Linked DNA regions of Homo sapiens: all the other regions are linked to region 5. Evidence: promoter capture Hi-C in 16 types of primary human blood cells and fetal thymus (Javierre and others, 2016). All regions are on one chromosome and are shown on one strand. The core of a region is centred on a gene start or on the middle of the fragment in contact, and the rest is flanking DNA. Distances in the headings are between cores, read along the strand shown. Region 1 has its middle 170 kb from the start of LINC00332. Region 2 has its middle 250 kb from the start of LINC00332. Region 3 has its middle 150 kb from the start of MIR4305. Region 4 has its middle 210 kb from the start of LINC00332. Region 5 holds the start of FOXO1 (forkhead box O1). Region 6 has its middle 230 kb from the start of LINC00332. Region 7 has its middle 230 kb from the start of MIR4305.

What was found. The method cuts DNA at HindIII sites, captures the fragments that hold promoters and counts their contacts. A CHiCAGO score of 5 or more calls a contact.
Region 1: a fragment that was not itself captured here is called in contact with the fragment with the promoter of FOXO1 in region 5 in 4 of 17 cell types (activated CD4 T cells, fetal thymus, total CD4 T cells and 1 more); the score reaches 7.2 in activated CD4 T cells.
Region 2: a contact is called between a fragment that was not itself captured here and the fragment with the promoter of FOXO1 in region 5, in 4 of 17 cell types (total CD4 T cells, naive B cells, non-activated CD4 T cells and 1 more). The highest score is 5.8, in total CD4 T cells.
Region 3: a contact is called between a fragment that was not itself captured here and the fragment with the promoter of FOXO1 in region 5, in 1 of 17 cell types (endothelial precursors). The highest score is 5.1, in endothelial precursors.
Region 4: a fragment that was not itself captured here is called in contact with the fragment with the promoter of FOXO1 in region 5 in 1 of 17 cell types (activated CD4 T cells); the score reaches 5.7 in activated CD4 T cells.
Region 6: a contact is called between a fragment that was not itself captured here and the fragment with the promoter of FOXO1 in region 5, in 9 of 17 cell types (activated CD4 T cells, M2 macrophages, non-activated CD4 T cells and 6 more). The highest score is 10.7, in activated CD4 T cells.
Region 7: a contact is called between a fragment that was not itself captured here and the fragment with the promoter of FOXO1 in region 5, in 1 of 17 cell types (endothelial precursors). The highest score is 7.3, in endothelial precursors.

What each region holds. Positions count from the first base shown.
Region 1 is chr13:40,011,778-40,015,578 of GRCh38, forward strand. No RefSeq gene overlaps it. Among named protein-coding and RNA genes, the nearest start is that of LINC00332, 170 kb to the right of the region's middle. The HindIII fragment of the contact is 5,126 bases long and covers 1-3,801 here.
Region 2 is chr13:39,933,915-39,938,104 of GRCh38, forward strand. No RefSeq gene overlaps it. Among named protein-coding and RNA genes, the nearest start is that of LINC00332, 250 kb to the right of the region's middle. The HindIII fragment of the contact is 4,030 bases long and covers 1-3,477 here.
Region 3 is chr13:39,809,559-39,813,259 of GRCh38, forward strand. No RefSeq gene overlaps it. Among named protein-coding and RNA genes, the nearest start is that of MIR4305, 150 kb to the left of the region's middle. The HindIII fragment of the contact is 2,036 bases long and covers 1,369-3,404 here.
Region 4 is chr13:39,973,427-39,977,665 of GRCh38, forward strand. No RefSeq gene overlaps it. Among named protein-coding and RNA genes, the nearest start is that of LINC00332, 210 kb to the right of the region's middle. The HindIII fragment of the contact is 1,811 bases long and covers 1,936-3,746 here.
Region 5 is chr13:40,664,248-40,668,132 of GRCh38, forward strand. It overlaps FOXO1 (forkhead box O1), which reads right to left and starts at 2,394. Exons shown (of 3, transcript NM_002015.4): 1 at 1,336-2,394. The coding sequence starts at 1,965. RefSeq lists silencers at 133-212, 513-1,022, 1,543-1,592, 1,683-1,822, 2,053-2,582 and an enhancer at 3,233-3,282. The HindIII fragment of the contact is 11,472 bases long and covers 1-3,885 here.
Region 6 is chr13:39,954,411-39,958,177 of GRCh38, forward strand. No RefSeq gene overlaps it. Among named protein-coding and RNA genes, the nearest start is that of LINC00332, 230 kb to the right of the region's middle. RefSeq lists an enhancer at 1,639-1,688. The HindIII fragment of the contact is 8,626 bases long and covers 1-3,767 here.
Region 7 is chr13:39,890,617-39,894,778 of GRCh38, forward strand. No RefSeq gene overlaps it. Among named protein-coding and RNA genes, the nearest start is that of MIR4305, 230 kb to the left of the region's middle. RefSeq lists an enhancer at 2,256-2,550. The HindIII fragment of the contact is 813 bases long and covers 1,819-2,631 here.

The DNA of each region.
Region 1 (3,801 bases), core at 120-2,619, 650 kb before region 5:
CTCCCCCTCATAAGTACCTGGCTTTAGCTTGGCTCTGAGAAGAGACCAGAGCAGTGGAGTGGAGGCTGAAGCCAGGGGAAAGAAGGCAGCAGGCATGCCCCACACAGCAGGGGATCTGAGTAAGCCCATGCAGTAGGGTGAGAAGAAGAGTGAGCCTAGCTGGATCAGAGTTGTAGAACAGCGTCAGTGCAGAAACAGGGGTCGAGAGCAATGTGGACACCAGAATCACTGCTTTATCGTAGCTAGCACCCCTCTTTTGGTGGGGCCTGAGTGGGCAGCTGCTGCTGAGCCTATTTTCTGTGCTTTTCCAATTCCATATATCTACCTGTCATTGTTGGCTCCCTTTCTTCGTGATTCCAGTTCCTTCCATCTGTGTTTGTTCTTCCAGTTTTACAAATGAAGTGCTTTTCTCTTTTTCCTCTCAATTCAGGCTTCTCTGGTCTTTGGTTGACTTCTTACTCCTAATACAGCAAGTTTAAAGTCTTAACCTGTATTTTCTGAGGAATTTCTCAATGAATGACCTGTTGTGAGACACAGGTTTCATATTGTCAAGTCAAATGACAAATGGCCCAGTGACTGTAACCTGCACTGCTGCCACCTCCTGAACACAACTAGAAGCACCTACAGTCTATAAAGACACTGGAGAGTTTATTATGTACTGTTTCGTGGCATCTCCTGAACCCTGCTTGGAGGTAAAGACCACTTCTTGCACATCATTATATCTGAACAGTGCTGTAACTTTTACCCAGGTATGAAACATGGAATTGTTATTTTTATTTAATTTTCTTGAAGTAACAAGGACTTGGATTTCTCTGGTAAATCAGTTTGTCTAGAAACTAATGGGTATCTCTAGGTTCCCCTGGAAAATATCACTACATTTAAGCTATTTTTCATGTTTCTTTTCTTTTTCTTTTCTTTTTTTTTGGGATGGAGTTTCGTTGTGTTGCCCAGGCTGGAGTGCAGTGTGCTATCTTGACTCACTGCAACCTCTGCCTCCTGGGTTCTAGCAATTCCCCTGCCTCAGCTTCCAAGTAGTTGAGATTACAGGCATGCACCACCATGCCTGGATAATTTTTGTATTTTTAGTGGAGACGGGGTTTCTCCATGTTGGCCAGGCTGGTCTTGAACTCCTGACCTCAGGTGATCCATCCACCTTGGCCTCCCAAAGTGCTGAGATTACAGGCATGAGCCACCACACCTGGTCTCATGTTTATTTTCAACATTTCAACAAATTCCTACCCAATTGTACGAAACTCCAGAATCTCTCCAAGTACTTCAAAAGCGTTGCAGAATTTAACTAATAAGTTGATTTTAATTTATTGATTGTTAGAACGAAATGAGATCTTAAAGATAAGTGTTGTTCAACACTTTAATATTACAAATGAGAATACTGTGGCTCAGAGAGTTTCACTGACTTTGCCTATAACCCTACGGTCAGTTAACGGCAGATGTGAAAGCTAAACTGAGATGTACTGAGGTCTATTCCTGTCTGTCTGTCATTACAGGAGGGCTCCTCTCTATTTAATTTTTACAATAAGATAAATTCATAGACATTTTAAGAGGAAGGAATACTATTGACAAACCAATGACAGCTTAGTATACTGGTTCTCAGGTAGGAAGCTCCTTATATCACCAGTGGGGCTTTATAAAAAAGATCAATCTTTGAGCTTCCTATTATCTATAGGATAAGAACACCCAAGGAAGGGTCAAGAAATCTCTACTTTAAAAATTCCCTATCATTGATTCTGATGTAGCTCCTAGTTAAGCATCACTGAAAGTAGAAAATACTAGCGACTTTGATTTCACTGGCCCTGGAATGGAATCTGAGATCTTGTACCTATTTTGTGATCTGAGGGAGTTGCTTAACTTCTTGGACCTTCAAATTCCTCATCCATAAAAAAGAAAGCAATAGTAACTCTACAGAGATAGCAACATGAAACACTTAGCACCGTGCCTGGAACAGAGCACAGGTTCAGTAAGTATTTGTTTGCATATTGCATCATTGAAAAGACTGGAAACTCTCACATTCTTCTCTAAAAGAGACCACATTTGCCCCAGTAGTTGAAGGTAAGGGACTGCATGTTCACAGAGACCTGAATTTTGCCATTTATTTTTTATTAATATTTGGGACAATACTCAAATTCTGTATGTCTGAGTGTTTTCTCAAAGATAGCAATAGCATAGTGCTTGGCATATAGTCAGTATGCAATGAAGTAATATTATTATTAGAATCACTTTATTCTGCTATCTCATGAACAGGTTTTAGCAATTGATATCTTCTCCATTTATTGTGACTAAATGAAACTAGCTACTCAGGTGTTAAATAAGATGTCATAAAATTGACATAAAGTGATCATTAGAAATTGATTTATAACATGCCTAAATTTTTTCATTGAGGTATAATTTACACACAATGAAATGCACAGATCTTAACTGTACAAATCAATGAGTTCTGAAAAGTGCATACACCCATTTAATCCATATCCCTACCAAGATACGAAATATTTCCATCACTCCAGAAAGATTTTATGTGACCCTTCTGAGTCAATCCTACCTCCCCTTGCTAAACCCTTCTGCTTCTATCATCATGGATTAGTCTGCCTTTTCTGGTACTTCATATAAATGGAATCATTGAATGTGTACTCTTTCATAGCTGATTTCTTTCATTCAACGTAATGTTTTTGGAATTCATCCATATTGCTGCATCTTTGGTAGTTTATGCCTTAACACACTTTTAATTGCTTAATTGGCATATTACTTCACTGACTCCACTAGCTTCATAAGTTATTTACTAAAGAAATATCATACACTTACAACTTTTTTTTTTTGAGACGGAGTCTCGCTCTGTCGCCCAGGCTGGACTGCAGTGGTGTGATCTTGGCTCACTGCAAGCTCCGCCTCCCGGGTTCACGCCATTCTCCTGCCTCAGCCTCCTGAGTAGCTGGGACTATAGGCGCCCGCCACCACGCCCGGCTAATTTTTTGTATTTTTAGTAGAGACGGGGTTTCCCCGTGTTAGCCAGGATGGTCGCGATCTCCTGACCTCCTGATCCGCCCGCCTCGGCCTCCCAAAGTGCTGGGATTACAGGCTTGAGCCACCGCTCCCGGCCACTTTCAACTTTTTAATAAGAAACAGTAGCAATTATAGGCACAATGTTACTGATGAAGGATCATTATCAGCTGGTGCCAGGAAAGACAATAAAACACAAGGACCATAAAATCTGACATTTGGCTATCTTGTCGCCTCAATGGGGGAAAGATTTGCCAGGTTTATTCTAATGTGATATTTTTCATACAGGTACCTCAAAATTAAAACCGGGACCACCAACATCATAAAATATCATATTTTCAAAATAAGACGAAGCCCACATTTGAAAAAATTTCTAGAGCAGTAGTTTTCAAAGTGGATGCCCCACGTGGAAAACAACATAGTAGATCTTCTATATTCATCTAAAAAATAAGAAAGATAATAAACTTTACTATCATTTATGAGTCCTCATGTCTGATGTTACATGAAAGAAGAGCTCCACCACTGAGAGTCACAGGTGCCCTTCCGCCTCCGTTGCTTCCAGAATATTATAGTACATGGCATTTACATGTGCCCTTGTTGAAAGAGTTTGAGTTTGAGGATTATATGATCTAGTTTTAGTTAAACCAACCATCACAAAAACTGACTTAAAAGTAATCCCGCAAAGAACCCATGATGAAACCCACAATGCATCGTGGCAAGTGAGATAAGCACAAGGAAAGAAGGTGGTAGGTTGGCCTTCCTTCTCTCCCTAGTAAAGGCTCTGTGTCAGCC
Region 2 (4,190 bases), core at 213-2,712, 730 kb before region 5:
GTTTCTAGGAAAATTTAAAAAGATAAGAAATAATATAAAAATAAAGTACATGTGGCCAGGCACTGTGGCTCACACCTGTAATCCCAGCACTTTGGGAGGCTGAGGCGGGTGGATCACCCGAGGTCAGGTGTTCGAGACCAGCCTGGCCAACATGGTGAAACCCTGTCTCTACTAAAAATACAAAAATTAACTGAGTGTGGTGGTGCAAGCCTGTAATCCCAGCTACTTGGGAGGCTGAGACAGGAGAATTGCTTGAACCCAGGAGGCAGCGGTTTCAATGAGCCGAGATCACACCACTGCACTCCAGCCTGGGCAACAAGAGCAAAACTCTGTCTCAAAATATAAAATAAAATAAAAGTACATAAAAGTAAAGGCATATAATGGCATTCTAACATTTCATTATATTTTTGAGGGAAACAATAAACAATTCTAACGATCAAAAGTATAATAGAATTTTTTTCTAATTTGAAGTAAGATGTGGGTCTTCAAATTGGATGGACTTAATCTGTTACTGGGTATAATTAATGCAAAGTGATTCACAATAGACTTATCCTGGAGACATTTTCAGATTACATTACAAAAATAAAGCATCATCCCAGGAAGAAAAACAAAATCCCACCAGTCACACTTGCACAATTTATCTACTAATAATTAATAATTAAGCACACCAAATTTCTTTTTTACAACAGAGAAAAAACATAATGTCTTCAACGTTTAACAGAATAAAACTTGACACGTCATAATTTTATACACAGCTCAGTTGCAAGAACCTTGCATATGAAAGAATCATGTGTTCTTCCTGAAAAAATTGATAATGTGATTGAACTCATGAGAGATGAATCGATGAATCATTGCAAAGAATTCAAGAACAACAAAACTGTGATCTAAAAGATCTGAGGATAAACATTAAACTTTGCATAAATTTAACTCTAAATAATAGTTGGTAAATATAAAACTTATGCAAATGTCAAACTATTATTTAGAAAGAAGCTAAATAATGTTAAACAATTAATAATGATGATAATGCTCTAAAATGTTGGATTATTCTCACTTTGTTATTGTCAGTTGTTTCCCAACAAAATTTATTTGCCTCTTCTTTCCTATTAATAGAGGCTTCATTTTGTGCAGGTATTCATGTGCCCAGCCCTAGACAATAAATCAATCATGATTAGTCTAAGCCAATCATTATAATCCTTGTCTCTCTCTCCAAGCCTCCCTTGGAGTTTGAGATGACTATGGATCTGGTTTTCGCTAATAATACCTGAGTTAAAGTATGCCAAAGAGGTTTCTGGGGGAGCATTTGCTTTCCTGATGAAAGGGGACACCTTGGCTGGCACAGATCCTCTTTCCTATCTCTGCCTTAAACACTAACATAGGCTGCAGCAGCCATCTTTTGGCCATGACATGAATGTGTGAAAGTGAAAGATATGCTAAGGATGGAGAAATAGAAAGAAAGGAGGCCTGGGTTTTGGATGACATCACCAGATAGGCCCAGTTCTCAGACCATCATAAAGCCATGCAAGAAATTAGTAATTTATGTTCAAAACCAAACAAAACCCTCTGACTACTTGGACATTAAAATTACTCTTCTAACTTATAAACTCAAATAGATAATCAAACTACAGTTATAGGCTGTTTGAAAATGAAAACATTACATATCAAAACCTATAGGATGAGATCAAAACAGCGCTAAAGGACACAATCATAACCTCAAATGTTTCCATCATTAAATGAGAATTTTTTTAAAAACGCAAGGATTTTACTTACTTATTCGGATTTTTTTTTAATTACAGAAAAAAAGAATTTTAGAGCTAAAAGTAAAAAACAAATGTGAGAAATGTAAGATATTACAATTGATAAATCTAAGAGTTGAATATTTGTGATTAAAACCCCAACAAATAAAAAGAACTAATGAATTAGACAAAACTCTGGCAATTATAATAAAAAAAGACAAAGACCACAAATTAACAAAATTTATGTCATAACAAATAACAATGGGGTAATAATAGGTAGTCAGGTGTAGTAACAAGGAAGTGGGTATAATCACAAACCCAAAGGAGATCATAGTCTTATAAGAAAATTATACCATTTGACCCAGCCATCCCATTACTGGGTATATACCCAAAGGATTATAAATCATGCTGCTAAAAAGACACATGCACACGTATGTTTATTGTGGCACTATTCACAATAGCAAAGACTTGGAACCAAACCAAATGTCCAACAACAATAGACTGGATTAAGAAAATGTGGCACATATACACCATGGAATACTATGCAGCCATAAAAAATGATGAGTTCATGTCCTTTGCAGGGACATGGATGAAGCGGGAAACCATCATTCTCAGCAAACTATTGCAAGGACAAAAAACCGAACACTGCACGTTCTCACTCATAGGTGGGAATTGAACAATGAGAACACATGGACACAGGAAGGGGAACATCACACACCGGGGCTTGTTGTGGGGTAGGGGGAGTGGGGAGGGATAGCATTAGGAGATATACCTAATGCTAAATGATGAGTTAATGGGTGCAGCACACCAACATGGCACAGGTATACATATGTAACAAACCTGCACGTTGTGCACATGTACCCTAGAACTTGAAGTATAATAATAATAATAATAAAAAGAAAATTACACACTCAGGGCAGGGGAAATAAATTAATGCTATATAACAGGAAAGAATATGATATATGAATCAAAATTTCAGAAAATGTACCGGAAACTTGTTTCTACTAATAAAGTTTGATAAAATTGTTACAGAAGTGAACTAAACTTATTTAAAAGGAAGTTTATTGTTGCATTATATGTAATAGGAAAACAATAGAAATTTCATAAATGTTCAGTAGTAAGAGACTATTAAATAAGTTATAGTACATTCATTCAGTCAATACCATGTAACCATTGAAAAGTTGTAGAATATTTCACATCTTGATTGGAAAATCTTTGTAATACTTCAGAATGTGAAAAAGGCAAGTTTCAAAACATCAGTCCAGACTCTTTGGGTGAATTAAAGGACTTAATTAATCTATATAAAGTTCTTGATGGAGAAGACATTGAATGTGTGTTAGTTTTCCCTCCCACACAGGATTACTTTGAAAGCTGGTTGTATGTAAAGTGGCTAGACCAAGCCTGGCTTGTGGTTGTTACCCATTAAATGTTAGAGCCTACCCCTCTGCTTCTTGACTGTGTTCAGGAGAGCTAAGGTGCTACTTCAGCACACACTGGCATGTTGTGCCACTATGCAGAATTGCAGTGAGTTGAAATGCAGTTTCTGGTGTGGTCAGGAAATGACAATACAATTGTGTGTGTGTGTGTGTGTGTGTGTGTGTGTGTGTGTGTGTGTGTATTAATTAACCTTTTATCTCTCACTCACATGTGTTTAGCACTAAATGTCTTTCTGATAATCAGAAAAAGGCATCTGTGTAAAAACTAGAGATCGTCTAGTTTCTGTTCAATATTTGGCCATTGGCCAAGCTTTCCCCAGTTCAGCTCTATGCGTATGACTTGTCAGATCCACAGCATGCATTCACAGAGAGACCTCAGGACATCCTGCTGGGTTGCCAGCACTCATTAGAAGACTAAATTCCCTTTATGCTTTTTTAAAAAATTAAACTTGGTGTTTTTTACAATAGCTGTTACAAAATTCTCTAGGCATAAAGTGTGCAACCATTAGAGTTGACTTTATTTTTTATATTGTGGTAGGTTAGAGTTGTAATTGGACTTAGTTCTGCTTGAAGAATCTATTGATTCTTTGAACTGGGATATTCAAAATATCAGCTTACCCCTGAAACCTTCTTTTGCCTTGCCATGGTCAAGGCCATGGATTCCTATTGTTTGTGTCCAGTAGAGATTCCAAGGGGAAGCTCTAGCAAGTCTTTGCAGGATACGTTAACTCAACGATTGTTATTTGTTATTTGCATCAGCCCTGCATAAAACACCATCCAGTGTGGCATAATAACCTGCCTAGGTTTCTCTCCCTCTTCAGTTATTTTTTATTTTATTTTTTTTTTTGAGACGGAGTCTCACTCTGTCACCCCGGCTGGAGTGCAGTGGCGAGATCTCAGCTCACTGCAAGCTCCGCCTCCCGGGTTCATACCATTCTCCTGCCTCAGCCTCCCAAGTAGCTGGGACTACAGGCACCCACCACCATGCCCGGCTAATTTTTTGTATTTTTAGTAGAGACGA
Region 3 (3,701 bases), core at 1,137-3,636, 850 kb before region 5:
TTTAGAAAACACTGATAAAGGAAATCTATAAATAACTTTTCAAAACTGGCCAATACTCAGCTTTCCTGAGTGAATAAACCTTTCCAGCAATGCAGCTAGCTGTGAGACCAATAGGTTAATATGAAGTTCACAGCACTTTATTTTTTTTCTAATTTATCCTTTGATAAATACAGAAAGGCTACATGGTAAGGCAGAGGAAGAATAGGAAATGACACAAAGTACTAGATAGCACATAAACAGAGTCAGAGGCATGGTGTCCACGCAGGCTGGATTTTCTCCAGGTGGATGCACTTCCAAACTCAGGGCCTTTCTCAGCAACAGGCGACTCCTCATTCTCAGCCTTTTCTCCCTTCCTTGCAGCCCCCTCAGCAGATTCACCTGTTTGTTGCTGCCTCCACCACTCTCTCTATCCCAGGATATTCACGCCCTCCTCCTTCTTCCTCTTCGAGCCTTAGTGGAAGGAGAGTGGACCCAATATGTCAGCTGCCCTGTTATTTGCTGTTCTTGAAGACGGGTCCTGTTAAAATGGGCTGAGCGCATAAAGGGCAGAGGCACGTGAAGAATCACAGCATGTGGTGGGGTGCCTTCCATGCAGTAAGCACAACACCAGGGCTGTTCACTGTCACACACAGTCTGAATGACTGTCCATTACTATCTGGGGCAATGCTCACATCCTTCTTACCACACCATATGCCTCTGGCCCTTCTGAATGACTATCCATTACGATCTGAGGCAATTCCATCTCTCAGTGACGTTAGAGAATTCTCCCCATGTCACCCCGATGCCCACGTCCTTCTTACCACACCATATGCCTCTGGCCCTTATGAATGACTGTCCATTTACTATCTGAGGCATTACTATCTCCCGATGACGTTAGGGAATTCTCCCCCTGTCACTTTAATGCCCACATTCTTCTTACCACACCATATCCCTCTGGCCCAAGTTACAGAGCCTAACAAAGTTCTAAGGTTAGCAGTTTCTGGCTCCCAACTGGAAGCCCTCTGAGTCCTCTATCACCTGCACTTTGATTTCCTGTCTTACACAGCACGCCTCTGCTGCCCCAAGGCTACCACTGAGGAAGGGAATGTATGTCTCTTGTTCCCAGAGAAGTTGCAGACAACATCCTCTAGGGAGCACCCATGGCCTCTCCAGTCCTGGCTGGTGCCAGGAGAAGAGTGGACAGCATTTTCCTTCCACCACACTTAGGTGTGTGTCTCCCGTGCTACTCCCACCTCCCACCTCCCCCCCCAACACCAAACCCCAGTAGCAGATGACTTTGGGGCTTGTCAAGTCATTGAGTAAGAGCACTCAAAATTGGATTGGACATGCCATTTTTGTTGAAATGGAAATGCTGATTTTGTGAAATGAAGCTTGACTGGCAAAGAACGTTTTCACAATAGCTATGAAGCCTCAGGAGGCATGTATTCATATCCTTCCAATAATCTTCAAGTGCTGGACATAACCTGGTAATGTTTGTAGGGCAGAACTCATTATGCCATCGTGAGGCGCCGCTCTAAACCAGTCTGAGTCCGATGAGTCTGGTGGACTGCCAGAGAAGCCTCCTGCCCACCACCCTGCAGTGAATTTGCTTGAGTGCAGTGAGTGAAAGTGGAAAGAATTATGTCACAACAATTCAGGGGTAGAGGGAAGTGCCTGTATCCTGACTTCTGTGTTCACACTTGGGAGAGAGGCAGTTCCCCATTTCAGCAATGACACCACAAGGCTGTGTGGTGGCCTCAGCCTTTGAGTACTGCAGAGAACGTGGCCCCAGTGTGCCAGCTGAACTCATCAGGACAGAGGCAGGAAAGATGATGTGTCAGTCAGCTGCAGCTGTTATAACAGAAATACCATAGACTGGGTAGCTTAAATGGCAGATTTTGTTTCTCACCGTTCTGGACTCTGGGAAGCCCAAGATCAAGGTGCCAGCCAATTTGGTTCCTGGTGAGGGCTCTCTTCTTTGGTATGTCCTCACAAGGCAGTGAGAAAGAGAGAGAGAGAATGAGAGAGAGAGAGAGAGGAAGCAAACTAGCAAGCTCTCTTATGTCTCTTATAAGGGCACTAATCCCATCATGAGGGCTCCACTCCCATAATGTAATGTATTCCCAAAGGTCCCACCTCCAAATATATACATTTGCATATAAAAATATCACATTGGGAATTAAGGTTTCAATATATGAATTTGGGGGGGCACAAAGGTTCAGTACGCAGCAGGTGGAGTGGCATTGGAGGGCTCCTGCAGGGCCTGGCCGAGGCAGTGATGAGTGGTACTGGTGACAGCAGTGGCCCTAGAGGCACAGTGGGAAACTGCACACCAGTGGGTACCAGAGGTGGAGGTGGAGAGCTTCATGCGGTTTTAGGGAACTGACGCCTGGACATAGATGGTCCTAATGGAGGCTCAGATGGGAGAGGAAATATAACTGCGGGGAGTCACACAGGGGAGCCAAAAGGAATGTCAGTGAGAATGAGAGAACCCCAGGGATTCCCATTTATAATTAAAGGAGATGGGGAGGTTCCTACAACCACACAGGGGTTAACATAAAGCAGCAAAATCAAGATGATATTAATATTAATATGACACCACTGTGAATCTCTGAAAAACATGGTTTATAGCTGTAAGAAAGAAATGTTGACCTAATTTATCTCCACCATCATTTAACTGGGAGAAATAAGAAATTATTCCTGTTACTTGTATGAGTCTGTGTTTGTGGCAGAAAGGGTCCAGGTGACCTCCTGGGGATCTGATTCCAATCTGAGTGAGTATTTGAGTTTGAGCCATTCAGACACGTGTGAAACTTATCCTTTTGGATTTCCTGATGCTTTCCCATTGGCAAACACTAGCTCAAGTCACCAAAAATATCATACAACAATTGCACATTTCCCATCCCCTTGCTGTTTGCTTTCTGTGCCTCCTAGGACTTTGCTGAGCAGCCACGCTGCACAACTGCCTGTTCCAGCCCCACATCTGGGCATCTTGTGGAACCTCTGTTTGTCGTAGGGGTCTCTCCTCTGCTGCTTTGTGGGGAGGCTCAGCTTATATCATGTGACTCTTGAACCCTGGGCTTTTCCAACAGATTCTTGTGACAATTTTTAGCTCCAATTGTCACCATTGCTTTAAACCTGCTCATCAAGGCCTGCAGCATCCTGGGTGATGCATCTCCTTTCTTAGGGTTTCTTTGTTGTTGTTGTTTGTGCTAACTTTTCACCCAGGCTCTAATATCTGTGTAGAACCACTTGAAAAAAAGAAAATTAAATTTTGTTTTCTCAAGAGACATGCCTGCCTCTCCTGGGGCTGCCAAAACACGCTGATTGTTCTTGGGTAAAACTCCTCCACTGCACAAAGTAAGTGGGACTCAAGCTGTAAATACACCCCATTCACCACCAGATCCCATTTTAACTTTGCAAAAAGCTTGCTTAATTCAGACAGGTACATTTATTTGTGTGCCCGGTCCCATAGTAGATTCAAAGTATCAGACATGTTCCCCAATGTCAGAGACTTTGCAATCTGGCTCATCTAAGAAAACATGGGGGTTAAAAAGAACTAACAACAGTGTTAGAAAAACCGATGCTCAATACTTTCTATCTCTTACTGACAAGTCTTTAACACCTTAAATGTAGTAGTCACTGCAAAAGTCTCTCCTTTTTTGTTCTTCTGTCTCTTGGCTTTCTTACCCTGAATCTAGATCTAACATTAACATGCCACT
Region 4 (4,239 bases), core at 1,591-4,090, 690 kb before region 5:
TTTCTCCTACACTTCTATCCTTAAAATGGGTATAAGACTTAACAGATTTTTTTTTTCTGAGGCTTTGAGACTATGGAACTCACAGGGATAGCCGAAGGTACCAATCTGAAATATAAGAAGCATAAAGTTGGCAAGTTGAGATGAGTCTTCAGAGATAGTGGTCTGAACTCACAGAATTTGTCTAAGAACAATGATGTCCTGCCTGATAGTTGGACTTAGATGATAGAATAAGAATCTGGTATTCAACAACTAAGTATTTGCATTAAATATCCTGACATAGGCACTAATCTGATGCAAATGTAAATGTTCAATAATTTTCTCCTTTCCTCTCTCCCTCCATTCTTTCCTTCCTTCCTTTCTTCCTCTTTTTCTTTTTCGTTCATTCATTTATTCTTTTGTTTATTTATTTCTGTCAAAAAATAGTTGTGCCAAGCGCTGCTGCTGTAGTAGTGACCACATCAGATGTGACTCCTGTTGTCATGAAAGTTACAGTAGAGCAGGAGGCAACTTTAAACAAGTAATTTCACAAAGTAATTTTATTACAATTGTATTACATTTGTATTCTATTACAAAGTAATTTTATTACAATTGTAATAAAATACATAAAAGTGAAGTTTACAGTGAGTATGAATGACAGATGAGTTACTTGGTTTAAAGGATCAGAGAGCACTTCCATAGAAACTGACGTTTCAAATAAGACCTGAAGGATAAGAAGAATTGCTTTCCTAAATGCTTTACAAAAAGTACTATAAATGCTTTATAAAACGCGTTGCCTAAATGCTTTGTAAAAAGCTTAGACTCTTCTATGCCCTCCTCACTTTTCCTACCTTCTATTCCTCAATTTGAAATGGTTCATTTACAGGTAAAATAGAAAAATCATGTTCATAGGTCTGAGTATATAGTTTCTATCTTTGTTTAAAGCTCTGCACCTGGGAAAGGAGCCTTCAGGAGCATCTACAGTGACACACACACACACACAGTACAGCACACATACACACACAGTACAGCACACATACACACACTTTTTTTTAAGTTTCAAGGTAATTATACAATATCCTCATATTTTGAGCTTATACATAATCTCCTCGATTACTATCAGGTTGCTCCTACAACTTAGAAAGTTCTTTGAATATTATAGTCAACAGAAGGCCCTTTGACCATGCTTTCTCTTTGAGTTTCTCTAAATACACACCAATATTGGTTCTCAGAAAAAGAATACCTAGTATTGCCTCTATGAAAGGGGGAAGAAGGTTGAGAATTGAGGTGGGTAAAAATGTTAACGTTTTTGGTAATGTTTTATTTCATTAAAAAATATTGGAAGACAATATTATAAAATGCTGCTATATTTTAAATTCAAGGTGTTAGTTATATGAGTGTGTGCTGTGTTATCTTTTCTAGATTTTTAAAGATTAGGGCATTTGATTTGAAATCCTACAGTTAGCTCATTTGTTAATGAATGAATGAATGAATGAATGAATGAATACACACAGCAGGGAGTCATCAAGCACCTGTGATATATTGGATCTGTGTTAAGAAATGTGACATGAGCAAAGTCCTCTACCCTTGTGCCATGGCTTACTCTAGTGTGAGCTTCCTGAATTAGGTCTCCTCACAAAGACAGGTGATTTTTTATTGATATTGGATGGCAGATCCATTATGGAGTGTTAAAAAATGGCTTATCAATTTCCATCCTGATAGACAGCAAAATCCTCTCCCATTTATCTCCTCTTCTTCCATGTTATCTCTCTTCCCAAGGTCATCGCAATGTCAATTCATGTCTTCTAAATTAGCAAGTCCGCATAAAGTGTTTCAGTGGACACCTTCAATGATGTAAGTATTCAAAAGAGTTAAGTATTCTGTCAAATAAAAAATCTTAGGTGATCCTAAGGCCAAGTTCTAAGACTGGATATCTTTTGTGCCAAAAGATGCTAGGTAAGCTTGTTTGTCCCTGATTCAATTTCTAAATCTGAATAATATCCCTGACATGCTTTTGAACAAATTATATAAATTCATTTTTTACTCTTGAGATAGCTTATGGTAGTTTCTTAAATAGGCACTAACCTCTTTGAAGCAAATACTACAAGAGGATGCTGCCAATCTCACCTGGCCCAAACAGTGAGACTGAACTTGACACTGTTATAACCTTAAGCGTCATCAGTACATGTTCACTGTACCTCTGAATGGATAAGAACAGGTGATCATCTGCTGACTTTAGATAACTAATCAATGATATGAGATAAGAGGACTCATTCAGGCAGCCAATGGGCAAATACTGCCTTAATGTTATTAAATAGGTCCTTACCAGTGTATATATTATATAATTTGAAGCAGTCCTCCAAAGCATCTTTAGCTAATTCCTAACAGAGTTGTATTCTAGCTACTCAAGGGCTCTCTTTTGAAACCACATAATTCCTTTGTATTCAGGCTCATGCATTCATGGTTTTCATGATGCAGACAAAGAAAGCAATAACCAATAAGATGTAAAGGACTGAAAGCAAAGGGTCTCTTGAGTTTTGTGCTATTATTTTGAATTAATTAACAAGAATGGTATTGTGCAGGCATTGTCACCATTATCATTATGGATGAGCTCATATATTAATCATTTAGCTCCCCTGGTTTTGATTTTTTATATCATACCAAAGCACATCTTATTTATAAATATATGAACTGATGTGGTAATAAGTGACAGAAACAAAAGATTCTCTTCATAATCTATGCTGTAACCTCAAGGGACAATATGACAGAAAAAAATACCGAACTACAGAAAGAAGGAGACCTCATTCTATGATTTCTTCCCTGTGAAGAATATATAATATGGAGGCTTCTATAGATTAAATCAGGGAGTTTAACCCCCCGTTCTAATGCGTTTAGTAGCTGAGCAGGAAAAGAGAATGAGCAAACGTACTCATGATCTACTCTCCGGCAAAATGGGTTTATAAAATTCCAACTTCATAAAGATGCACCTGGACGCTCCAGGGCACAGGACATCTTCTCTGAAACATCATTTAGTGCCTCTTTATTACAGCCCTTTCTCAGTCTCCTCTTTCCTTGTTATTTAGCATGAGCAAAAAGTAGCTTCTGGGGAGACTCCTCCTTTTCTGAAGACTAGTTCTTACCTGCACAGGCAATATTTCGTGTCGGGAGACTGCTCCTCTGAGCAACCCTACTCCCACACAATCGCATGTAATCCGCCTCACAGCAGGCATGAGCCTGCAAGTGACAAGACACAAGTGGGGAGAATTGGCAACTACATAAAAAAAGATACCAAATAGTCTCCGCCTACCAGTCAGATGCTACTCCATCAGAATGGAAAACAATGGGGAGAACGGAGATCATTCAGTTGAGCATGATCCATTTTGAGCAATCTCTAATCAATTCAGGGACACCTCCTCTTCACCCCTCCTCTCCCCTCCATCATCTGTCTGCATTTGTGTAGCAGTGAGCACAGCATTAAGAATACTTTGACAAGGGTGTCATTTTAGTCTGAACGCCTCAAAATGACTGGGGAGGAAAAAAGTTATCTTTTGCCTTCAACTCCAATAAAAATGATCTGAGAAGGAGAAAGAAAATTTCCCCAAGAGATCTACTTTTCGTATGGAGTGTTATAGGATTGCCCTGATGATGGAGATGATTTCAGGGTGAGAGAGAGGGTGTGACATTTGTCATCATTCATTAGGAAAGGATAAGTCAGAGAAGCCCAATAGAACCTAATTTCTCCCCACTTAAGGGACTTTAAGGGGGAAAAAAGCTTAGAATTTATTGTCAGAAACTGGATCCAGGCTCTGCCTTTTGTTATCTATGTGAACTTACTCTTGCCTTTAATATCTTGGAGTCTGTTTTCTTATTTGCAAACTAGAAATAATTCCAATATTAGCACAATGTGAATATTAAGTGAGGTCATGTATGTGCAAGTGCTCACTGCAGTACATGAGTTACATGGGTGGACAGTGATATTTGTATTGAATAAAAACACAGAGTTTAAATTCTGCAGTAGTGGGAGCTTACCCTCAGGCTACTGTTAGGGTGAGAGATGATCTTAAACAGGGACAATGTGCACTGAGCCCTATGCCCCGTAGATGCCCTAAATGTGAGTGCACATTTTGCAAGCCATGTGGACCTTGAATGTGAGTGAAAGGAGGGAAGATTGGTCACCAGGGCCTCCACTCACGCTCTCTCTTTGTGTGCTTTTCTCTTTGAGACCTCCCCCTCCATACCAGTGACCTCATACCAGCATTTGCT
Region 5 (3,885 bases), core at 1,144-3,643:
GGCGACAGAGCGAGACTCCGTCTCGGAGGAGGGGAGGGAGGTGTTTAGCTCAACTAGACAGCCTTTACAGCAATTCCGCCACCGGTGACAGTGAGAAACTGTCAGCTTGGGGAGGCCGCGCCACGACTGGACCCCGCCCCCGGGAAGCCTCCCCGGAGCCGAGGGCCCCCGGGCCTTCTCCTCGGAGTCGGGAAGTGCCTGCCCCCACGCTAAGTCTCTCCTGGCCACGCTCTGAAAGGCAAAAATGGCAAAAATCCTCCTTCAAGGCACCGCTCCCTCGACGCGCACCGCCACTCCGACTCCCTCAAAACATTGGTCGCAAAGCCCCCCCGCCTGGTCCTCCATGCTCAAGAATAGGGTGGCAAGGCAGGAAAAGACTCACACATCCCAGCCCCCGGCCCCTCAGGGCAGCCTCTGTGTTTCTAACTAAAAGCCTCCTACCAGGGGCAAGACCAAGTTCGGGCGCTTCCCCGCATGGAGAAACGCTGGCCCCACGGCGCCCGGCCCCGACGCGCTGGCCCTTTAAAGGCGCGGGCTTCCTGCGCCCGGGGCCCCTCCCACGCCACCGCCACCGCCACCGCCACCGCCCGCGCCCGCCCCCGCCGAGGGTCACACTTGAACTTTAGCTCGCCCCGCGCGGCCAGGCGCCGGCGCTCCGCAGGCGGTGGCCGCCCCTTCGCACGTGTCGGAGGCACCACCTCGGGCTCGGGACGCCGGGCCCCCGGCACTCGAGGCCACTCCGGAGAAAACCAAAACAAAGCAAAATGCGCACCGCCTCCAGAAACTGCCCGGCAGGCCCTGCACCGTCCCCGGCCGGTCGCGCCCTGCCTGTCCCCTCCACCTGCAGCCCGGTCCCGGGGCAGCGAGGCTCCGGGGCCCCTCGCCGCGCCCTCCCCCGCCGCGCCCGGCGGAAACAGCTCCGCGGCGCGGCCGGAGAGAACCCGCCCTCCCCCCGCGGAGGTCCGGGAGGGAAGGGGCAGCCGAAGCAGTCGGCGCGGGCCGGGGGTTGCCGCTCCCAGCGAACCCCTTTCTCCTTTCACTGGCAAACTTTTCGGCCTCGCTCTGACGTCCACTTCTTGGCGCACTTTCTTTACTTAGTTCCCCAACGAGCCCCTTACCGCGTCCCACGCGAACTCCTGACTGGCGCGCACGCACACCTACTGCCGTCCCCGACCGGACCCGGGCGAGGCCACCGCGACCACCGCTTCTCGCCCGCCCTCCTGGGAACGCGCTGCCCTCCTGCTCCGCACCTTCAGGCCGAGCAAACCTGCACAGCTGCGCCCTCGCCTGACCCACCGCGCCCCCAAGGTCCGGCCGCGCGCCGAGTCCACTCACCTTCCAGCCCGCCGAGCTGTTGCTGTCACCCTTATCCTTGAAGTAGGGCACGCTCTTGACCATCCACTCGTAGATCTGCGACAGCGTGAGCCGCTTCTCCGCCGAGCTCTCGATGGCCTTGGTGATGAGGTCGGCGTAGGACAGGTTGCCCCACGCGTTGCGGCGGGACGAGCTGCTCTTGCGCGGCTGCCCCGCGAGCGGCCCAGCGGCGGCGGGGGGCACCGGCGGGTGCTGCGACAGCGGCCCGGGCGGCGGGGGCTGCGGTGGCGCTGGGTGCAGGCAGCCCGCCTCCGGGCCCTGGAAGTCCCCGCACAGCCCCCCGGTGGCGGCCGCGGCGGCCGCCGCCGCCACCGCCGCCGCCACGGAGCCGGGCGCCTGCGGGAAGTCCTCGCTCTCCTCCAGCAAGCTCAGGTTGCTCATGAAGTCGGCGCTGACAGCGGCAGCCGAGGCCGAGGGCAGGCCCGCCGCGGCGTCGGGGTTGGCAGCCGCGCTGCCCGACGGCGCCGGGCTGGAGGTGGCCGAGTTGGACTGGCTAAACTCCGGCCTGGGCAGCGGCCAGGTGCACGAGCGCGGCCGGGGCAGCGGCTCGAAGTCCGGGTCGATCTCCACCACCTGAGGCGCCTCGGCCATGGTGACCCCCGCCCCTCCCCCAGCCGCAGGAGAGCCAAGAGGGGGAGAACGCAGCACTGGGGGCGGACGGGGAGGGGGCGCGAAGGGACGGTCCGAGATTTGGGGGAACGAAGCCGGTGCGGCGAGCGGACGGAAACTGGGAGGAAGGCGCGGCGGAGTGGAAGCGCGAGCCCAGAACTTAACTTCGCGGGGCCATCCACATCGAGGCTCCTCGGGGTCCGCCGCACGGACTGGACGGCCGGCCAGAGCCGCCGGGCCGGGGCAGAGCCTGCGCCGCGCTCCAGCTGACAGGGCCGCGGACGGAAGGACGGACGGACGCCGCGGGCCGCTTGCTCTCCCCAGCGGCGCGCCCGCTGCGCTGCTGCCTGTTGAATGTGGCGGCTGCGGCAGCGGCTGCTGCGACTACCAGGCCGCCCGACTTACGGGATCTGCCGCCGCCCCCCGCCCGCGGCGGCGCGCGCGCCGGCCCGCCCCTGACCGACAGCCCGCGCGGCCAATGGGCATGCGGCACCGCCGCCCGGGCAGCCAGTGGGCGCCGGGCTGGGTGGGGCCCGGTTTTCCACGGGGAGGCGGCGGTGGGCTGGTGGGGGGTAGTGGGGTGTTTTTCTCTTTCACACACTCACCTCCTTTTTTTTTTTTTGGATCTCTATTATTTTCTGGTAATTCTCGAGTGTTTCTGTGATTCTCTCGCCTTCTCAGTGTTTTGATTGCTAGGAAGCAAACCAGCGTGGAGGCGCCGGCGACACTTTGTTTACTACGGAGCAGCAGAGCCGAGTACTCGGGAAGCCCGGGTGGGAGGAGGCGCTCGCTGCTCCCTGACCTCCGCTGCGGGCCGAGCCCGGCGGGCTGGCAGGGCAGGGGGCCGAGGGCCGGGGGCGCGGGGTGGGCGGGCGGAGGCGGCCGCGAGGAATTCTACTCAATCGCTCCCTCCTGGCTCCACCCACGATGTCTTTGCTGAACGACGTGGGGAATCGGTGGGTTTTGTTTTGGTTTAATGTTTTCTTTCGCTGCGATCTGTCAAGTCCTCCGGCCCCCTCGCGAGCGGCACACGCCCCCCACCCCCGGCGCCGCGGCTCCTGCAGTCGAGTCCGCGCCGAGGGACCCTTCTCCGTGCCCACCGGTCCGCACCCCCGGGCTCAGCCTGTGCCATTCGGTCTAGCCAGAGGCGCGTCACCCAGCCGGCAGCCCCCAGCCGGATTCACTGTATTCTTGACCTTTTTTAAAATGCTAGAAATGAGGAACAGGGGCTCCGGCGCGGGGAGGAGATTATCTGGCCTCCCTGAACACACGAATCCAAAGGCACCCGCGACCGCATGCCCTCCGTGGGAACCTCTTCCCCTGGGCGGGAATCTCCCGCTCCGTCCACTAAGTCCAGGGCCGGCAGCGAAGGGCTCAGGAGCGCAGTTAGAGAGAACCAGGTCATTTTATTACTTATCCCTAATTAAATTTAGCTGTTTGTTACTTCTTTTTTATTTGCAACGGAAGTGATCGGGTGTTAAGTAAAAACGCAAGGGGGGCGGGAGATAGGACCAAAGCCTTGGGGCGCAGCCTGCCCCACCCCCAAATTCCTTGAGGCTACTTGCTGTGTGTGTCAGTCAACCCCCCACCCACACCCCACCTTTCCTCATCTGGGCTGCAGGTCCAGGACATCCTGTCAAGGATCAGTGGGGCCAAAGGTGGGAAGATAATGGCCCTTGTGTCTCAAGCAGAAGAAACAGTTTTCCAGTTTTGTTTTGTTATGCTTTTGCTTTTTTAGGAAGAATATGGAAGGCATTTCCTTTTAGAAAGATGGGACCACTTAGGATGGAAGATGGACAGTAGGGTTTTAAATATCTTGTCCAAAAGGACAGCTTCCAACTCTTGTTTTTTAATCCCTTTCTTTCTTACAAGTAATTCTGCAATGGAAAAAGTGGCATCTAG
Region 6 (3,767 bases), core at 339-2,838, 710 kb before region 5:
GCCTTGTCATCCATGTCATGCCTAAATTACCATAAGCATTAATAAAAATAATCCTTAATAGAGTTGAAAAGAATGAAGCAGAAATGTGTCTTCTGAATGGCAAGCACTGTGCTAATGAAACAGGCATTTTCTTCAGCCACAGGAGCTTAGGAGAGGCAAATTAAGCATTGTGCCCTGCTCTCCAGCTGACTTGCAAAATATTCTTTCCAACCCCAGCCCTTCTAATCTGGGAGGAAGAGGAATCCCGATAATATCTCACAATCCCTCATCTTCCCAGGAGTGCCTCCCAGTTGTCAATATAGGCAGCTGCCTCATTGGGGACCCTCGTGCACTCATATATTGATGGCAAATGCTTCTTTCTTGTGTGGTGGTTCGTGGCAAGACCAATCTCATTACTGAAGCCTCCTGGTAGAGTAAGATTTCTCCCTTGTTGTGTTGTGAATCAGGTCGATTTTTATAACCTAGACTGAAAGCTCAGTGAGGCTAGATACCATATCTACCTTGTTTTCTGATGCCATTTCAATGTCACATACCTACTAGGCACTCAGTATTTTTGAATACCTGGAATTCACTCTAGATGCAGCCTGCACAGGTCCCAGGAAATTCATTTGCTTCTTTCTCCCAGGCTGCTTCAAATCCACACTCCTCCAGTTAGCTTCTCTCAGAAGATTCATTCCCCAACACCAAAAAAGAGGATTAAATAATATGTATTCTTTCGCTCACTTTTGTGGCATGCCATCCACACAAAAACTCCTGTAAAGTCACCACTGTCATTCCAGAATACTTCCATTAAATAATGGTTGAGTTTGCACTATTTTCATTTATTCCTTTTTTTTTTTTTTTTTTTTTTGAGACAGAATGTCCCTCTCTCACCAGGCTGGAGTGCAGTGGTGTGATCTCGGCTCACCGCAATCTCCGCCTTCCAGGTTCAAGTGATTCTCATGCCTCAGCCTCCCCAGTGGCTGGGATTTCAGGCACCCGCCACCATGCCTGGCTGATTTTTGTATTTTTAGTAGAGATGGGGTTTTGCTACATTGGCCACTGGTCTTGAACTCCTGACCTCAAGTGATCCGCCCTCCTCAGCCTCTCAAAGTGCTGGGATTACAGATGTGAGCCACCGGACCCGGCCCACTCTTTTCATTTCTTAACCAAGGTATTTCAATATCTGTCCTTGCCTGTATTACATGGGTCGCAGCTTCAACATGAAACTAAACTGTGATTGAAGTAACCATTGAGATACAGATTGGATTTCAGTCTTTCAAAAAAAAAAAAAACCTGTCACTCTAGTAACAGATTTCCTGGTTCCCTGATCTTGTGTCCTGTGTGTCTTCAACAGCTGTGGGCATCTCTAAAGTAAGTCACAAGCTCAAACTGTGTCTGTGGTTTGAGGCTAATGGGTATGAATGGATTTGCACCATACCTAGTATGTAGCCTCATTTTCTACTCTCAGATCCTCTTAGATTCCCAATAAGTAACATCAAATACTGCCTCAAGTAGTTTGGCATAGATGGGGATGCCCTACATAGAGGAGGTCATTCTAGATTGAAAAGAAAATTTAAGAAGGCAAGAAGCTAGATAAGTTGTGATCAGGGTTGGCATTCACTGAAGGAGCTATTACAGGAGACAGTAAAATGTGATGCTGGACATCAGATTCTGTCTGCAGTAAGAGGATAGCAGAGCTAATAGGGACTCACTCCAGAAGACACAGAGAAGTACTCCAAGGGCATCAGACTTCTGACATCCAGTGTGAAAGTGGGGTCAGAAGGCAGAGGATGGAACCAGGTTTCAAGCAGAAGTCAGATCTATCACAGGAGACCCAGAGGGGATTTCCTGGGTGGTTTGCTTGGTGATTCAGTCAGCTTTAATTGCCTTTCCTCCTTGGGGCTACTTGAGTAGCTTGAAGGCTCTGCTGAATCTGATGAAGACACAACAGAAGCATCAGGGTGACCTTAAGCAGGGCCTGTCCTTGGAAAGTGCGCCAGGCAAGTAAACCTGCCGGCATGTGGGAAAAGATTCACACCAAGACATATGGCTGGAGGAGGCCTGGAGGGAAGAGGAATCATGGGGCGGATCTGGGACTAGACATGGGGGCCACTGGAGGACAACTGTAGACTTTACAATTAATGCAATACTTACTTATTAAATACCTACAGCCAGCAGAGACCTGGACAGAGGAAGGCTCTGACAGGGTGATTAAAGAGGCTGGACTAGGCAGTAGACTGTAGGAAGGAACAGGTGGAAGGTAGGGGCAGGAGCAGGTTTGGGGAGATATGAAGCCTAAATCTCCCCCAGACCCCAGTCAAACAGACACAGTTACAAACCAAGCAAGAGTCAGGGTCTGCACATCCCCTTTACTTCTCTACTTTGTTTAATTCATGTCCTTCCAAAGGTGGGGTAATACAAGAGTCTCCATGGTTTTCATCAAATCTTCCACACACTCACTTCATTCACTCACTTTTTTCTTCATTTGACACATATTTATTGACCACCTACTAACCTCTAGGCACTGTGTTAGGTACTAAGGATACATCGATACTTAAGACAGACACAGTCTCTACAATCGTGGAACATATTGTCTAGAGCACATGCCAACAAACACTTTTCTGTAAAGGGACAGATAGTAAATATTTCAGTGGCTCCGAGTAGTCAACTCTGCCACTGCAGTGTAAAAGAAGCCAGAGAGAGAAAGTAAATGAGTGGGCATGCTGTGTGCCAGTGAAACTTTATTTACAAAAACAGGTGTCGGCCCATATTTGGCCTGAGGGTCATAGTTTCCTGACCCCTGGTCTAGAAGGGAAGTCTCTAAGTATATAATTGTGAGCATGCTGACTGTTTTGAGAGGGGAAGAATGATAGGAGAACAGAGAGTAAGGGGCCCTAAATTGCTGAGAAGTTGAGACCTGAGGATGTGGTGTTTAAGCCGAAATATAAAGGTTCCATAATAATAATTAGGTTGCATGGGTACTTGGGAGTTGAAAGGGCAAAGAATATTCTAGGGAGAGGGACATACATGGAAAAATGCCCAGGCATAACAGAGAGCAGGGGAAACACTCAGCTCAGCTAGAAGGAGGAATGGAATATGGAAACGTGAGAGATGAGACTGCAGATGTGTGCAAGGGGCCAACCACAGAGGGCCTGGTAAGTCAGGTTAAGAAGTTTAGACTTTTCCTAACCTAAAATAATGGGAAGCTGTTAATGGGTTTTAAACACTGAAGTGGCATGCTCACATTTGTGTGTTTGAAAGCCCCCTCCAGTGTGGGATGGAGTACAGATCAAAGTTATCAAATCAGTAGTCCGCTAGAAAGCTGAAGCCAGTCCACAGAAAAGATGATGATGGTCTGAGGATTGTGGTGGCAGAAATGATAGGGAGAAGTGGTTGAGCTTTACAACTAGTTGGGAAGTAGTCCTGGAGCAGGCAGCAAGCTCAAAAGTCTCTATCTAGGTTGGAGTCTTCATTTTACCACTTTTTGCTTTGTGGAAGAGGAAGAAACTTTGATAGGAGAGGGATACAGTCAAGGAGGGCAGGAGGTAATTGTGGGAGGGCAGGTGTGGGAGCAGGGTGAAAAGGCAGTTTGCATTTAAGGGGAGCATCTCCTCCATCCCCTCACTTCCAGCACACAAGAATGTGTAGAGTAGACTTTCTGGATAGGTTGAATGGTCTCTGTGAAATAAAGGCTCTTGTTCGTGCATAGTTAAACTGGTGTTGATAAATGGATTCCTTCTATCTAATACTTCTGTACATTTTGATGACCTTCCTCTGAATGTGAT
Region 7 (4,162 bases), core at 975-3,474, 770 kb before region 5:
CCTCCCAAAGTGCTGGGATTACAGGTGGGAGCCACCTTGCCTGGCCAGGACTACAGTGTTTTTGATGATAACAGCACACTGAGCCCTGGGGTGGAATGTCTTAGCAGATAACGGTGAACAAGATGAGTTCACTATGCCCATAAATGTCTTTGCAGAAGGGCCCACATGATGCAATGTAGGGCCAACAGTGAGGTTATATGAATCTCCTAGCCACTCTCTCCAAACCTGCAGACCGAATAAATATTGCTCCAAGTTGCCTGGAACTGGGAACTTGCCTAGGGACAGAACTGCAGCCTGGTCTTAGAGCAAATAATGCTCAAAGCCAGAAGTCACTTTACAGGTCGCAGAGGCCAACTTCCTTGATGTACATTCTAAGGCTCGAATGTTCAATGTTTAGTACTCTGGAGTGGGAGAGCAAGGACAAGAACGGAAACAGAATTCTGACACCCAGCTATCCCACTGTCTTTCATGGAAGCCGTAGTTCCTGCAAAAGATATCTTAAGATGTATCAATATTAAATTTATAGAAGTTGATAACTGTATTCTGGTAATGTATAAAAATGCCCCTATTCTTAGGAAATAAACCCTGAAATATTTAAGGGTAAAAGACCATGACATATGTAACTTACTTCAAATGGCTCAGAAAAGAAATTTGATGATAAATCATAGATAGATAGATAGATAGATAGATAGATAGATAGATAGATAGATGGAATAGCAAATGATAAAGCAGATGGGTAAAATGTCAGGTAAATCTGGGTAGAGGATTTCAATTGTGTTTATACATTTTATTTTTAAGCAAGCTGTCTGTAAGTTTCAAATTATTTCCAAATAAACAGTTTTTAAAATTTGCCACACAGACAAAAGCTATTTTAGGATGATAAAAGAGGCAAACTCCTCAGGCCTCTGCCTTGAGTTGGCCGTGTTTAGGATGGAAAGACTTCTAGCACCCTACTAGAGGCTGTAGAATTTGGAAAGCAAAGACTTCTCAGCTCATCTGGTGAGATGGATTTACTGGGTAATTTAAAAAAATTATATGGGTGTGTTCATTTCTCTTGTTCATTCATCTTAGTGGCCAGGTATACTTCCTGCAGTTTAAAGTTGAATGAGTCAGCTATAATTTGGGGTAAAATTATCGGTTTATCACAGTGTGCAAAGGTGCCCAATGAATACTGAGTTTAAGGAAACAGACATGTATCTTTAGGACAGTGACAGAACAAATTGAACATTTGCAAGTACTCAACATTTTGTGAAACATTTTCATACGTATTTTGTCATTTGATTTTACCCCAAGATTTGAAGTGCAGGAATTCATCCCATTGTGCAGTTGAGGAAACTGAGGCTCAGAAAGGCTAGTTCTTAATTACAGAGCTGTAAGTAGTGGGGCTGAGACTTGAGTCTTACTATTAGAAATTCTGTGCTCTTGTCACTAGGCTATGCTACCCTGTCTGCAGCTAGAGCAGTACACCCTCCAGCAGACATTTACTATGTGCATTCTAAGTGTCAGATATTGTACATGGCTCTGAAATCTGTGTTCCTGCTGCTCCTATGTGCTTAGTAAAATGGTGCTAATAAACTGCAAAACACTTTACTTTTTGGCCATTTAAAAAATTTCATTAGAGAAATACATACAAATGCCTGTTTTGTTTTGCTATTTTTGCCTTCATTTTCGTGTGCATGTAGAGACCCATTTTAGCTTTTATCATAAATGTGGTACCAATATACCTCACAAAGATAATCATAACACCTCCTGGGAGGTACTTGGGAGTTTACCTAATCCAAATTTTTCATCTTTAGAGATAAGAAAATTAACACCAAAAGCTTCAAGAAAATTGTCTAAAGGCACACAGCTAGTTAGACGCTGAGCCAGGACTGGAAATCAAATGTCTGATTACAGGTTTAGTTTATTCCTCCTGGAAAAGAAATAGTTTTTAGCAAAGTGTAGTTGGTTTTATATTAATACTTTTTTTTCCTTGACATCTTTTAAAAAGGGATAGGCTAAAAAGGGATGCTTTTATGTTGAATATACGTGTGTGTGTGTGTTTGTCTGTGTGTCTGTGCGTATGTGTGTGTATTCCTGATGTAAACATACAAGAAGATTAACAATTAAGCATATTCATCCAGAAGAAGAGGGAAGAACTCAGATCAGCTCTGTTCTGTGTTATATTTGTCTCTCCTAATCAAAACCATATGAGAAGCTAGAAAAGAACCCAGAGCCCAGTATGACTGCCAAAGATGAAGAAGAGACAACAGAGAAAGAAAAATGAGGGAAGAGTGAAGCAGAGACCCCATATTATTTCCAACATTTTAGCACACGCTCGCACTTCCATTCTTTATCAGATAAGAATGTTTTGCACACATTGGGCCAATTTACGCTGCACAGGAAAGCCTGTAGCTGTGCTCTCGGCCCACCACTTCCTGTGGGAGTCAGCAAAACAGGCTCAGCCCTTCCATTCCTTTGACCAAAATGCTTCCAAGTCCTAGCTAGGAAGGGCCCCATTGCTTATCTGGCCATTTGATGGAAGGAGTCCACAGTCAACTCTTGGCAGTCATTAGGAAAATAGTGTCCATTTCTCAGGTATCTTTTCCCACTCTGTGTGTGTGTGCGTGTGTGTGTGTGTGTGAATAAGAAAGCTTAACCTTTTTTGGGCTCACTGCACTCCAGTGCCTCACTATTCATGCAAGTTAATTCTTTACAGTTGTAATGATCTCTTCCCTTGTCCCACGACAATGTAGGTCTTCAGGTGCAGGGAAAGGTCTTCTACCCACCGGAACCAACTTTCACCCCACCTCTTCACTGCTACCAGAGTCCCTCTTCAGAGGGGCTCTACTTCGCATTCTGGGATGCAGAGACTCACAGTGTTTCTTTCCAATACATCATCCTAGGAGAGGAAAAAATCATTGGGAGGCTGCCCATTGAGATCCACTCTTTGGAGTCTCATTCCGAAACCAGCTTCTCCTGAGGCCAAGTGGCAAAGACAGATAAATAATATGGTGTCATTTAATTTACTCTAAAATAGTATTTAAAAAGGTTTAGTTTATGATCATCTCCAGATGTTTTCGCAGGAGTCCTTACTTCTCCTGCATCCCTCTCACACTGGTCATCCCTATTCTACTGGTTCTATATCTCATAGTTTGTTTCCTAGGTGCCACCGTCACCAAACAACTGCTAAGGATTTCTGTCACCCGTCTTCCTCTTGGTGTCTCTGCGGGTCTGAGATGGGAATGGGGAGAAGGAGCAGCTGGCTCCCCTGATTTAAAATCCCTGTCCCTGGAGCTGCCATTCTGCTGGGGCTTTTCTTGAAGGATTTTCTCTGAGGGCTCTTGTCCCTCACCCCAACCCAAATAGACTCTTGTGAAAAACAGAGCTCTAGTTGGAAGGCTCTTTTGGCAGACTGAGTGCCCTCAGAGTCTTTTGGTCTCCTTGCAATAAGGGAGCTCTCCCCAGAGCTGATTCTAGGCCAATTCTAAGAGTACAGGAAGAAAAATGGAAATTTTTCATTCAGGGATTGAGCCCCAGGAGGTGAAAGAGTGCTCCTGTCATCTGCATAGTTAGTATAGGAGAAGAAAAGCACCATTTTCTCACCAAAGCTAGGTTTGTGGCTGAGGCCTCTATAACAAAAGGCTGATAACGAGAGAAAAGCATACAAATGTATTTAGTATAAGTTTTATGTGGCACGAAAGCCTTCATAAGGAAATAGAGACACAAAGAAATAGTAAACTTGTGTATTTTTATGCTAAGTTTGATGAAGAGTAGACAGTTGTGGAAGAATATGCTTGGATCTAATAACTGGGGGGAACTTAGCAAGACTCGTTTGTTTAGATTCTTCTCTGTGACCCTGTATCTTCAGAGATAAGGCTATGCCTTTTCTCTGGGTATAGGGAGGGCACCTCATGAATGAGGGTCTCATGCCCTGCATCCGGGGAAGGTCAGAAAATGCTTTTTAGGTTTTATGACCTGCTGCAGGTGAGAAAGGTGGGGGGAAGATCAGAGTGACCTTCCTGCTTCTGCAGTTTTCTAAAATTCTTTCAGCTTAAAATATTCTGGGGTAGTGTGTCCTGAACCCCATCAACAGTGGGAAACACAGGACCAAAAAGACTCAGATCTGAAATTCAACCCACTGTTCTTTCCAGCATCCCAGTTCTGGCAGCACCGAGCGGCA